2 separate regions of the Homo sapiens genome follow, and region 2 is linked to region 1. Evidence: promoter capture Hi-C in 16 types of primary human blood cells and fetal thymus (Javierre and others, 2016). All regions are on one chromosome and are shown on one strand. Each heading gives the region's core, a stretch centred on a gene start or on the middle of the fragment in contact. The rest is flanking DNA. Distances are from core to core; before and after follow the strand shown. Region 1 holds the start of KRTAP5-2 (keratin associated protein 5-2). Region 2 has its middle 13 kb from the start of MUC5B.

Region 1 (6,743 bases), core at 2,795-5,294:
TTCTCAGCACATATATGATGCATGCATATATATATATATGTATATATATATTTTTTGAGATGGAGTCTCACTCTGGTTGCCCAGGCTGGAGTGCAGTGGCGTGATCTTGGCTCACTGCAACCTCTGCCTCCTGGGTTCAAGCGATTCTTCTCCCTCAGCCTCCTGAGTAGCTGGGATTACAGGCGTGCCCCACCATGCCCAGCTATTTTTTTTGTTAGTTTTAGTAGAGATTGGGTTTCACCACGTTGGTCAGGCTGGTCTCAAACTTCCGACCTCAGGTGATCTGTGCGCCTCAGACTCCCAAAGTGCTGGGATTACAGGTGTGAGCCACTGCACCCAGCCAGGCCTTTGTTTTTATTTTGCCTACTATTAGTATAGCTTGCTTTGCATGTTATGTCTTTTTCTACCCCCCCTTCTTTTTTTTTTTTTACATTTTTGAATCCTTATGTTTTAGATGCAACTTTTGACTTTACATCTAGTTATACATTTTTTAAGAAAACTTGTCTAGCAATCTTTATATGTAAACTAGAGCATTTTGTCCATTTACTTGTGAAATAATTACTGAAATATTTGGGTTTAAAACCTATGTTCTTAGTCTGAATTTTCTATTGCATCACCTGATCTATATTTCTTTTTCTCTTCTGTTCTTTTTGATTAGTGCTTTTTTATTCTAGTTTTTTATGTAATTGTTTGACTGTCATACATGACTTTGGTTAGGAGTCTTGGATCTTCTTTGCTTCTTTTCAATTTTTGTCATTGTCTCTTGAATCCTTTTTAGTTCTTCATTTCTTTTTGGTTTTTAAAATTTATTGTACTTTTTTACTCATACGTTTGTCCCACTTTAGACTTTATTTCTAGAGTGATTTCTTTTAACTCTAATTTTCTCTTAAGTGATGTCCCCTCATTTAGCAATTCTTCTATTTATGACTTTTGTTGTTCATTTATGTCTCTTTTTTTGAGATGGGGTTTCACTCTGTTGCCCAGGCTGGAGTGCAGTGGCAGGATCATAGCTCACTGCAGCCTCAACCTCCTAGGCTCAAGCAATCCTCCCGCCTCAACTTCCCTAGCAGCTGGGATTAAAGACACACACCACCATACCCACTTAGTTTTTAAAATGTTTTGTAGAGGTGGGGGTCTCACTATGTTGCCCAGGCTGGTTTTGAACTCCTGGCCTCAAGTGATCCTCCTGCCTCACCTCCCAAAGTGCTGGGATTACAGGTGTGAGCCACCGCGCCCGGCCTTATTTATGTCTGGTATCATTTCCTTTCATTGTTCATTAGCTCCTTTGGAAACAGTAGGCTACCACTGTGATCTGTTTCACGGCAGGCTTCCTAGCTTTCTTCCATTGCCTCTAGGGACTTACCGAGGGCCCTTGCACCCACTCACCACTAGAGGGAGGAAAACCTTCCCCATTTCAGGAGCCAAATCCAAAATTCATGCTGCGCTTTTCCAGCACACACCTGTTGGCTCTTTTGAGGTTCCCCTGTTTTCGTCTCTGTTAGATGTTTCTTCGCTTTCTCCTGCACAGACACTGAAACCCTGGGGGACTGTGGCTCTTGGAAATTTATCCCCACCTTCTTGTACTTTTAGGTTCACCTGCTTTTTCTTAAGACACCATCTCACTTTATATTGCCCAGGCTGGAGTTCAGTGGTGCGATCACAGCTCACTGCAGCCTCAGACTCCTAGGCTCAAGCCATCCTCCTGCCTCAGTCTCCCAAGTAGCTGGGGCTGCAGGTTTGCGCTACCATGCCTGGCTTACCTGGTTTTGTTATAAGTCTCCAGCATGCATTTTTGGTTTTGTTACCGAGTTGCTCGGTGTCCTGTGGGCTGTGGGAATGTACAGGGCCCAAATGTAATGAACTCTGCGTTCATGTCTGCTGCCACCTTCTGGAGTTTCCCAGTTTGGATTTTTGAGTAAACTGTCTTAAGCAGCATTTCCTTTTAACGTCGTGAAACTAACGATAGCCATGTCCCCTAGCAAGATGCACCTTTGACACACTTTTATTCCCTCTCCTAAAAGTGGCTGAATTAATCTAAGCCTTTATTTCTAGATTATTTCATTTTTCCTTACATTGCATCTCTTTTCTCTCAGAAATTTGTCCTGGAAATTCCCACTCTGCTCTTCCCTGGCATTATCAGCAGTCGCTTAGATCTGTGGGTGTTCTGTGGGAGCTCATTTCTCACCAGCGCTCCCTGTGTGCTCTCTTCCCTCCACCTTTTCCCTCCAGGTTCGCTTGTCTGGAGATCATCCTCAGATCACTCTCGTCCCCTCCTCCCCAGTGCGTGATTTCTAAAGCCTTGCCTGTGACACTGGTCAGAGAACAGGCTCAGCGTGGTGGCACGTCACCATGAAACAGATGGACTTGGCTCAGGGTCCCCAAATGTGTCATTTCCCAGGAACTCCCCTTTCCTGCCGGGAGACTGAGCTCCGAGGACACCTTGGGCCATTCTGTAACTTCCTGGTTACCTTTAGTTATGGAAAGCCGTTGACCTCATGATTGTAAAAGGCTAATTGAGTGTTTGAATCAGACCGCGCTGGAGCTCAGCGGTGCTTCACTCCTCCCTCCTCCGACCTTGCCCTGCCTGGGGTCCTTCCGAGGCCCCAGAGGAGAGCGGGAAGCTGGAAGCCATGGGTCTTGTGCAAGGCCCTGCTTGGCTGGTCGTCAGGACTCAGGGCCCGCCTGCCCCTCTGCGCCTCTAGGGCGGGCATTGAATGCCGAATCCTCCCCGGGCTGAGCCCTCTTCTCCTGCAAGCAGAGACTGTGAAGATATTTGAGGCCGAGAGGAGGACAGAAGGGAATGGCAGGCTTTTTTGTGAATGTACCAGGCCTGCTGGCAGGCGTTTCCCAGCTTAGCTGACAGATCAGAACACAGAATCGGTCACCGCACAGGAAAGGGGTTGGACAGAATTGCACCAAGTATACAGTTGATTTACAGACATGAGAGGCTTTATTGCAAGGAAATTCATTCATTATTTTGTTATTTTTTTTTAAACAGATGGAGACAACAGGAAGGAAAGAGACCTTCCTGGTCACACTTGGGCCACAGGAGAACAGGCAGCGGCCCAGGAGGATCCAGGGTCCTGATGGTGGTTGAGAAGCTGGTTCTTAGTGATCACTCAGAAACGTCGGCCTGGCCTTGTGGGGTCAGACCTTGCATCTCAGTCAGCCCAGGGAGAAGAAGAAGATGGTCCACACCCAAGTGCAGGGAACATCGTGGCAGTCGGCTGGGTGCCTGCGTCCAGGCGAGGACACCTCCCGCATCAGGGAAACACACGTTTCTGGAGTGAGGAGGCTGAAGGCAGGGCCCAGAGGAGAGCTGAGCCATGGAAGGAGGTGTGTGCATGGATGGTGAGCTAGAGCAGGTGCAGGTGCCTCAGGGAGGATGTGTGGGACGAACTGACTCAGGGAACCATAAGAAATGCTTTCACCAAACAGGAGAAACCTGAAGGTCTGGGTCCAGAGCCTCAGATCTTACACTGGCAGCACACAGGGACACAACAGTTGGACTGGCAGCAACAGGGCTTGCAGCAGCTGGACTGGCAGCACACGGGGACACAGCAGCTGGACTGGCAGCAGCAGGGCTTGCAGCAGCTGGACTGGCAGCAGGATGATCCACAGCCTGAGGAGCAGCAACAGGGCTTACAACAGCTGGACTGGGAGCAGCCACAAGAACCACAGCCCCCCTTGGAACCCCCACAGGAGCCACAGCCCCCCTTGGAGCCCCCACAGGAGCCACAGCCCCCCTTGGAGCCCCCACAGGAGCCACAGCTGGTGCAGGAACAGGCTGGCACCCAGGAGCACACGGGCTTGCAGCAGCAGACAGGCACATAACATCTGGAGCCACATCCCCCACAGCTGGAGCTGCAGCCCCCACAGCCAGAGCCACAGCCCCCACGGCCGGAGCCACAGCCCCCACAGCCAGAGCCACAACCCCCACAGCTGGAGCCACAGCCCCCACAGCCGGAGCCACAGCCTCTGGAGCAGCCACAGCAGCCCATGGTTCTGGTGGATTGAGGGTGGAGCAGGTAGAGGAGCAGGTGAGAGGGAGGTGCAGGTGTGGAGCTCCCTGAGCCTGGGCTCTTTATATACCTGTCCAGATGTCAGGCATGACACAGGGTCCCTTTCTTGTGACTGTTTACACTATTTTTCCAGAGCTCTATTTTTTTCCTCTTTGCTAGTGACTTCCTTCTGGCTCAGTTGAGCATCTACTTTCTTTGTTTTCTAAATTTGTCTTTTTCCCCATTTGTTTTGGCCCCTACAATTAAAACCTCAGCTCCAGGCTGTCTGGTTCTTCCTGCAAAGCTCCAGGGTGCTGGTCACCTGCTCTCTGCTGACCACATGTGACCAATGGGCAACAGCCTCTGCCCACGTGCTCTCATCTTTCCTGTGTTGACTCCCTCAATAATATTAATTTTACATTTTTAGATTTCAAAATTATCCACGATCTTTATACTCATGCCAGTCTCAGCTTTCCGGGTGTGTTAGACCATTCTTTGCATTGCTCTAAAGAAATACTTGAGGCTGGGTAATTTATAAAGGAAAGAGGTTAGAATGGCTCATGGTTCTGCAGGCTGCACAAGCATGGCACCCACCTCTGCTCAGCTTCTGGGGAGGCCCTCAGGGAGTTTTCCTCACGGTGGAAGGCGAAGCAGGAACAGGCACACCACATGGTGAGAGTGGGAGCAAGGGGTGAGGAGGAGCCACACACTTGTGAACAACCAGATCTGAGTGAACACACTCATCGCCAAGGGGGTGGCACTAAGTCACTCATGAGGGATCCACCCCCATGACCCAGACACCTCCCTGCAGGCCCCTCCTTCAACACTGGCCAACAACTATATGAAAAAATGCTCCACATCACTAACTATTCGGGGAATGTAAATCGAAACCACCACGAGATACCATCTCATATCAGTCAGAATGGCTTTTGATAAAAAGTAAAAAACAAAACAAAACAAAAAAACCTAAAATCAGATGCTGGCAAAGCTTGAGAGAGAAGGGAACACTTGTACACTGTCGGTGGGAATGTAAATGAATTCAGCCACCACGGAGAGCAGTTTGGAGATTTCTCAAAGAGCTAAGAATTGAACTACTATTTGACCCAGCAATCTCATGATTGGGTATATACCCAAAGGAAAATAAATCAATCTACCAAAAAGACACATGCATCCATATGTTAATTGCAGTGCTATTCACAAAAGCAAAGATGTGGAATCAACCCAGGTGCCCATCAATGGTGGATTGGATAAAGAAAATGTGGTACATATACACCATGGAATACTACACAGCTGCAAAAAAGAACGAAGTCATATCTTTTGCAGCAGTATGGATGAAGCTGGAGGCCGTTATCCTAAGGGAACTAATGCAGAAGCAGAAAACCAAATACCACATATTCTCACTTATAAGTGAGAGCTAAACTTTGAGTCCACATGGACATAAAGATGAAAACCATAGACACTGGGGAACAAGAGGAGGGAGGAAGGGAGGGAGGGGGCAAAGGCTGAATACTGGGGAACAAGAGGAGAGAGCAAGGGGGCAAGGACTGAAAAACTACTGGGTACCACAGTCACTATTTTGGTGATGGATTCATTCATACTCCAAACCTCAGCATCACACAATATACCCATGTGAAAAACCTGCACATGTACTGCCTGATTCTAAAATAAAAGTTGAAGAAAAAGTTCTTTATATACTCTAGATACTAGATGCTTATCAGATATCTGATTTGTAAATCTTTTCTTCCTTTATTATGTAGACTGTTCTTTCACTTTGTTGATAGCGTCCTTTGGTGCAAAAATATTTAACTTTTGATGGCATCCAATGTATTTGTATTTCTCTTTTGTTGCTGGTGCTTTTGGTGTCCTATCTATGAATCCACACCGAATCCAAGGTCATGTTTTCTTTTAATAGTTTTATAGATTTGACTCTTAAATGTAGGCCTTTTGACCCATTTTAAATTAATTAGTGTATGTGGTGTGAAGTAGGGGTCCAGCTCATTCCTGTGCATGTGGATGTCTAGTTTCCCAGCATCATTTGTTGAAGTACTGCTCTTCCTCCATTGAATGATCTGGCACCCTGTCAAAAATCAGTTGGTCATCTACATGAGGGTTTATTTCTGGCTCTCAATTCTATTCCACTGGTTTATACATTTATTCTAACAACAGTGCTAAACTGCCCTGATGACTGCAGCTTTGTAGTAAGTTTTCAAATTGGCAAGTGTGAGCCCTCCAACATTGTTCTTCTTTTTAACCTTGTTTTAGCTATTCCGGGTCCCTTGAGATTCCACATGAACTTTAAAATCAGCCTGTGAATTTCTACAAAGAAGCCAGCTGCTTTCCTGATAGAGATTGCATAGACTCTGTAGATCAATTTTGGGGGTATTGCCATCTGAAAAATGTTAAGTCTCCTGATACATGAACATCAGTCTGCTTTTGGGCTGCCATAACAAAATACCACGGATTTGGTGGCCCAACAACAGGCATTTATTTTCTCACAATTCAGAAGTCCAAGATCGGGTGCAAGCAACTTTTGTTTCTGGTGAGGGCTCTCTCCTTTGGTTGCAGATGGCCGCTTTCCCACTCTTTGCTCACATGGCCTTTCCTTTGTGTGTGGAGAGAGAAAGAGTTGGAGGGAGGAAGAGAGAGAGAGAGAGAGAGAGAGAAAGAGAGAGCGAGACAGAGGCAAATGCTCCCTGGTGTCTCTTCTTATGAAGATGCAAATCCTGTGGAAGCCCTTATGAC
Region 2 (6,743 bases), core at 1,377-3,876, 390 kb before region 1:
AGGCAGCTCTGTCACCTCCGGGAGCTCGCCCTGCTCACGACCCACCACGTGCCACCCTAGTCCCAGACCCTGCAGGGGCCCTGAGAGCGGTGCTTACCAAACCAGAGGCAGAGGTCCTGAACCCCAAACCATCCAGACCCATCCCAGGCCAGCGTCCCACTGCTCCTCTCTGGCTGGGCTGAGCCAGAGGCTCATTCCCACCCGGGCAGGGTTGGGGGGCTGCTCCTCTGACTGTCCCACCCAGAGGGAGATCAGCCCTGATGCACCACCCCTGCAGGCCCCGGGGGCTCAGGCTGCCTCGCCCAGCACCCACCCTGGAGGCCTCAGATGCCTGGGCGGGGGCTGGCAGGAGGGTGCCAGGGAAGGGCCCCCAAGCTGATGTCCCCGGCCGATGGCTCTCAAGCTTCTACCCTCCCACGAAAGGATGGTTCAGAATTTAGTGAAAACTGAGAATCCACGTCCTGCTGGGAGGGGCCCTGGCAGGCTGGCTCCAGCTCACAGGGTTCAGGAAGAAGCCCCTGGGGGCAGGGAGGTCACCAGGCCACACCCTGGTGGTAGGATGTGCCTTAGGTCCCCAGAGCCAAGAGGCACTATGGCCTTGCTCCCGGCACCCGACCCCACCTGCCGTGGACCCGTGCGCCTGTGCGCAGCTCAGGAAGCCACCGGTAGCTCCACTGAGACCAGCCTCCTCTCCCGGGGCGTCTCAGCTGTCCCCGGGGCCACGTCCCCCCCTCACTTGGGTCTCCACAGCAGCGCCGGCCGAGCTGGTTTGCAGACTCTGCCTCTGGAGAATCGTGGGCGGTGGCTCCTGTTTGCCTACGTGTGTGCTGCATGGACAGAGCTGCAAGGCCCCGGGCGAACATGCAGGCAGACGGACGTGGATACACAGAGGCTTGGAAATGCCTCTTCAGCCCTGCTAAGAGCTGGCCCTGGGGCTTTGCTCCCCTTCCCTGGAAGCAGAGCGTGGGGCTGCTCAGCTGGGCAGAAGCCCGTCCGTCCAGAGGCTCAGCAACGCCAGGGCAGGGCCCCTGCTGACCCCAGGCCAGTCCCACCATCCTCCTGGGCGATAAAGGGTCGGTGCTGAGTGACCTTAAGTTCTGAGAAAGGGGCCTGGCAGCAGCTCTCGACCAAACTCTGCCAAAGCCTCAGGCCGGCCATGGGCGAGGCTGCCCCTCATGTCCCCGCGGCTGGGTAGAACTGGGCGTGAGGCCTTGGTCTGGTCGCCAACCTTTTCCCTACAAACAAGTCCTCATTGTGCCCCTTGAGCTGTTCTGACCACCGTGACCTCTGAATGGGGTCGTAGGTCAGAGTTCAGAGTTCACTCACCACTGCCCTTGGAGCAGCTCTGACTCTGTACCCCACAGGGGTGTGGGCGCATTCGCCGCCATCTGCTCAGACCACACAGGCTTTCAGAACGTCAGCCTCATCCCAGATGTGGGGCAGGCAGGGCCCTGGTGAGGCTGAGTGCACAGACAGGGCGGCCGGGCCCAAAGGTGAAAGGGGCGGGGATCACGCCTGGGCCTGTGTCCCGTGAGGGTCGGGCCCTGCAAGTGGGCTGCCCCTCTGCTGCTCGGCCTGCCCCATCACGGCGCGGGAGTCAGGACTGTGGTGGGTCCCTTGGGCTGGGCCTGGATCTCCCTTTCCCAGTTCTTGCAGGGGCCCTGGGGCCAGGTGGGGCAGGAGCCGGCGGTAGCAGGAGCCTGTAGGGCTTGGGTGTGGGTGCTGGCCTTGGTATCAGGTGCCTAACCCAGCACCGGGCCACTGGGGAAGGTGGCCTCAGCCACACGGGGCCACGTTGGCCCCTCTGCCAGCCTCGCAGGCGCTAAGTCAACATCGGGGTTCCTGGAGGGAAGGGAGGGCCTGTTTGCCGCTGACACTTGGCAGGGAACTGGACAACGTGCGCCCCACTCCTGTTTGCTCTGACTCGAGTTGTCTTAATCCTGAGCAAATGCGGCCAAGGGGCCTGCCTCGGCCTTGTCCTCTGTCCACACTCTGCCCGCATCCTCACCTGCCCGCCACACTGAGGTCACGCCTGCCCGCCACACTGAGGTCACGCCTGCCCGCCACACTGAGGTCACGTCTGCCCGCCACACTGAGGTCACGCCTGCCCGCCACACTGAGGTCATGCCTGCCCGCCACTGTGAGGCACCCCAAGACTCTGGCCCTGCATGGGGGTGCTGCTTCCCCAGGAGACTCTCAGGGCTGGGGAGCCACTAAGCATCCACGGTGCCAGGGCCAGGACAGCCCCGACACCGGCCTCAGCACCTGGCCATGGCACGCCAGCCCCTTGCATCCCTGTTGCCTGCTCAGGCTGTCTCTGCCATGTCCCCCTCCTCCTCCTTCCACACGTGTCCCCTCCACTTCTCCCTTTTCCCTTTTGTCCCCCTTCACTACTGCACCCCTGCATCCAGGCCCCACTGGGCTACTGCAGGGGATGCATTCTGGTGGCATCATGCCTCTGGGGAAAGTCCTCCTTCGCTGTGGTTCTGAACTTGCAGGTAAGTTGAATGAGTGGAACAGAGACCTCCTCCATGCCCTTCCTCAGGCTCTGGGGCTTGTGTTTTGTTCCAGGGACTTGTGCTATTTGCTGTCTGTAGCTACATATTTTTCTGAACCTCTGGTGTTTGAGAAGCATGTCCCTTCACCCTTATATACGCAGACGTGTCGCCTAGAAACAGCAGGGGTCACACCCAGACGGGTCGGTGACGTGACATCACAGCCCAGAGGCAGACCCCTCTGCTGTCCTGCCCGCGTCCATCACAGCTTTCATCTTTCCCACCCCAGGGTTTGGCGTAGGACCACCTGTCCCACCACTGCCAGCTCTTCAGTCTCCTTGTATCTGGAATCTGTCCTCAGCTTTTCTGTTTCTTGACCGTGGTCTTTTGAGGAGAGTAGGCTGGTTATGTTGCGTGGCACCCCTAAGTCTGTCTGAGGTTTGCTTGTGCTCCAGCTGGGCTGTACCCTGGCAGGGTCACCACGGGGAAGCTGTGCGTGTCTCCAGAGGATGTGATGTCGATTGGACCCAGCACTGGGACGCCAGCCTTCATCACTTGGTTCAGGGGTGTCTGCCGGTTTTCTCCACTGGAAAGTTGTTGGGAACAGGCCCCCCAAAATCTGCCCATAAACTGGCCCCAAAACTGGCCATAAACAAAATCTCTGCAGCACTGTGACATGTTCATGATGGCCATGACGCCTACGCTGAAGGTTGTGGGTTTACTGGAATGAGGGCAAGGAACACCTGGCCCACCCAGGGTGGAAAACCGCTTAAAGGCGTTCCTAAGCCACAAACAATAGCATGAGTGATCTGAGCCTTAAGGACATGCTCCTGCTGCAGATAACTAGCCAAACCCATCGCTTTATTTCAGCCCATCCTTTCATTTCCCATAAGGAATACTTTTAGTTAATCTATAATCTATAGAAACAATGCTTATCACTGGCTTGCTGTTAATACATACGTGGGTAAATCTGTGTTCGAGGCTCTCAGCTCTGGAGGCTGTGAGACCCCTGATTTCCCACTCCACATCTCTATATTTCTGTGTGTGTCTTTAATTCCTCTAGTGCCACTGGGTTAGGATCTCCCCGACCAAGTTGGTCTCAGCAGAAAGTTGCCATCTCCTCCCCTGGAGCTAAGGAGTCTCTTGTGGGAGGTGCTTCAGGACCACATAATTATTCTATTCCTCCCTAGCTGCTGTGTGTTAACTAGTGTCAATATCCATTAATGAGTCTAATTCCTCCCACTTTTCTTAGTCTTTCTCTCTAAAAACTGGGAGAGCTCCCGGCATTCAAGGAAATCTCTGTCAAAACATCAGTTGAACATGAGCTAAAGGAACACAGACTTCATGATCACACATGACAAGAAATAGTCTTTGGCAGCCAGGTGTGGTGGCTCACGCCTGTAGTCCCAGCACTGTGGGATGCCGAGGAGGGCAGATCACCTGAGGTCAGGAGCTCAAGACCAGCCTGACCAATATAGCAAAACCAGTCTCTACTAAAAATACAAAAAATTAGTCAGGTGTAGTGGTGGGTGCCTGTAATCCCAGATACTTGGAAGGCTGAGGCAGGAGAATTGCTTGAACCCAGGAGGCAGAGGTTGCAGTGAGCGTGCCATTGCACTCCAGCCTGGGCAACAGAACAAGACTCTGTCAAGAAAAAAAAAACACACCAAGAAACAGCCTTTGCAAAGTTCACTTAAAAACATCTCGAATGGATCACTGTAGCCTTCAATAATAAAAAAGAAGAGAAAAACCCAGCCAACACTAGAAAAAGGGGGAAATCTGATTTCCAGAGTTACCACATTATAATAGTTAAATCCCCAATTTTCAACAAAAAAATCACAAGACTTACAAAGAAACAATATAGCCCATCCAGAGGAACAAAATAAACTGGGAGAAGTTATCCCTGAGTAAATTCAGACATCAGTCTTACTAGCCAGTGATTTTAAAGCAACTGTCTTAAGTTGCTCAAAGAACTAAAGCAAAAGACGGACAAAGAACCAAAGGAGGTCAGTAAGACAATGCACGTACAAAATGAGAATACCCACAAAGAGACAGAAATCTTTTTAAAAAGAACCAAACAGATATTCTGTACTTGGAAATTATAATAACTGAAATGAAAAAAAATCACTAGAGGGGTTCAACAGCATATTTGAGCAGTTATAAGAAAGGCTCAGCCAAACTTGAAGACAAGGCAATTGAAATGATCAAGTCTGAGGAGCAGAAAGAAAAAAAGATTGAAGAAAAGTGAATAGAATCTGAGGTGCTTGTTGACCACCAAGTGGGTCTTACAGGAGGAGAGAAAGGGAGAAATTATTCAAAGAAACTCAAAAAAATTCAAAGGAACAAAAATGGCCAAAAGCTTTCTAAAATTGATGAAAAACATGAATCTACAAATCCAGGGAGTTCAAGAAACTCCAAGTAGGATAAACTCAAAGAGATCCACACTGAGACACATTATAATCAAACAGTTGAAGGATAAAAGCAAAGAAAGAATCTCAAAAGCAAGAAGAGACGTGACTTGTCGTATTTAAGGGATCTTCAGTAAGATTGGCAGCATATTTACCATCAGAAACCTTAAAGGCCAGCAAGGTAGTGGATGATAACATTTAAAGTGCTGAAATTAAAAAACAACAACACTGTCAACCAAGAATTCTATATCTGGCAAAACTGTCCTTCAAAACTTAGGGTGAAATTAGGACATTACCAGATAAACAAAAGGTAAGGGATTTGTTGCCACTAGCCAAGCCCTGCAAGAAATGCTACACAAAGTCCTTCAGGCTGAAATAAAAGGACACTAGACAGTAACTCAAAGCTGTAAAAAGAAATAGATCTTCACTGAAACTACATACATGGCCAAATATAAAAATCCAGTATTACTGTAAATTTGATTTTAATCCACTTCTTCTTTTCTACAGGATATAAAAGGCAAATGCATAAAAATAACTATAAATCTATGTTATTGAATACACAAGGTATAAAGATGTAATTTGTGACATCAATGAAATAAAGGGAGGGGGTGGAGCTGTGTAGAAGGAGGGTTTTGTGTGCAATTAAAGTTATGTTGGTATCAATTCAAACTAGACTGTTATAACTTTAGGATGTTATATGTCATCCCGAGGGTAACCACAAAGAAAATGCTATAGAATATACACAAAAAGAAATGAGAAGGGAATAAAAATTTGTCACTTCAAAAAATCAACTGAAGACAAAAGAAGGCAGTGATGGAGACAATGAGGAACAAAAAATTAGAAGACATACAAAAAAATAGTAAAATGGCAGTGGTAAGTACATCCTTATTAGTAATTACTTTAAATGCAAATAGACTTAGACTCTCCATTTAAAATGCAGAGACTGGTTAAAATCAATTTTTAAAAAACCATGATTGGCTGGGCATGGTGGCTCACGCCTGTAATTCCAGCACTTTGGGAGGCCAAGGCAGGCGGATCATGAGGTCAGGAGATTGAGACCATCCTGGCTAACATGGTGAAACCCCATCTCTACTAAAAATACAAAAAATTAGCCGGGCATGGTGGTGGGTGCCTGTAGTCCCAGCTACTTGGGAGGCTGAGGCAGGAGAATGGCGTAAACGTGGGAGGCAGAGATTGTAGTGAACCAAGATTATGCCACTGCACTCCAGCCTGGGCAACAGAGTGAGACTCTGTCTCAAAAAAAAAAAAAAGTCAATTCAACAAGAAGATATAACAACTATAAATATATATGAACCAAACAACAGAGCCTCCAGGTATATGAAGCAAACATTGTCAGAATGAAGGGAGAAATAAATAGTTCTATAACAATAGCTGAAGACTTCAGTACCACACTTTCAATAATCAATACAACAACCAGACAGATCAATAAGGAAACAGAGGACTTGAACAACACTATAGACCAATTAGACATAATGTACATGCACAGAACACTTCACCTACCAACAGCAGAAGACACATTTTTTTCCAAGTGCACATGAAATATTCTCCAGGAGAAACTATATGATAGGATCCAAAACAAGTCTTAATAAACTTTCAAAGATTGAAATCACACAAAGTATTCTACAAAGGAATGAAGCTAAAAATCAATAATAAAAGAAAAACTAAAATGTACAAATATGAGGAAATTGAATATCACACCTTTAAATAACAAACAGGTCAAAGAAGAAATCACCAAAGATATTAGGCATTCTTAAAGCTTGAATGAAAACAAAACCACAATGTATCCAAACTTATAAGACACACAAAGGTAGTAATGAGA

Evidence for each region. The method cuts DNA at HindIII sites, captures the fragments that hold promoters and counts their contacts. A CHiCAGO score of 5 or more calls a contact.
Region 2: a fragment that was not itself captured here is called in contact with the fragment with the promoter of KRTAP5-2 in region 1 in 2 of 17 cell types (naive B cells and total B cells); the score reaches 6.7 in naive B cells.

What each region holds. Positions count from the first base shown.
Region 1 is chr11:1,594,250-1,600,992 of GRCh38, forward strand. It overlaps KRTAP5-2 (keratin associated protein 5-2), which reads right to left and starts at 4,045. Exons shown (of 1, transcript NM_001004325.2): 1 at 2,928-4,045. The coding sequence starts at 4,001. The coding sequence ends at 3,468. KRTAP5-AS1 (KRTAP5-1/KRTAP5-2 antisense RNA 1) reads left to right here. Exons shown (of 2, transcript NR_021489.2): 2 at 2,999-4,935. RefSeq lists enhancers at 2,100-2,673, 3,248-3,821. The HindIII fragment of the contact is 10,330 bases long and covers 1-4,987 here.
Region 2 is chr11:1,206,917-1,213,659 of GRCh38, forward strand. No RefSeq gene overlaps it. Among named protein-coding and RNA genes, the nearest start is that of MUC5B, 13 kb to the right of the region's middle. The HindIII fragment of the contact is 4,451 bases long and covers 402-4,852 here.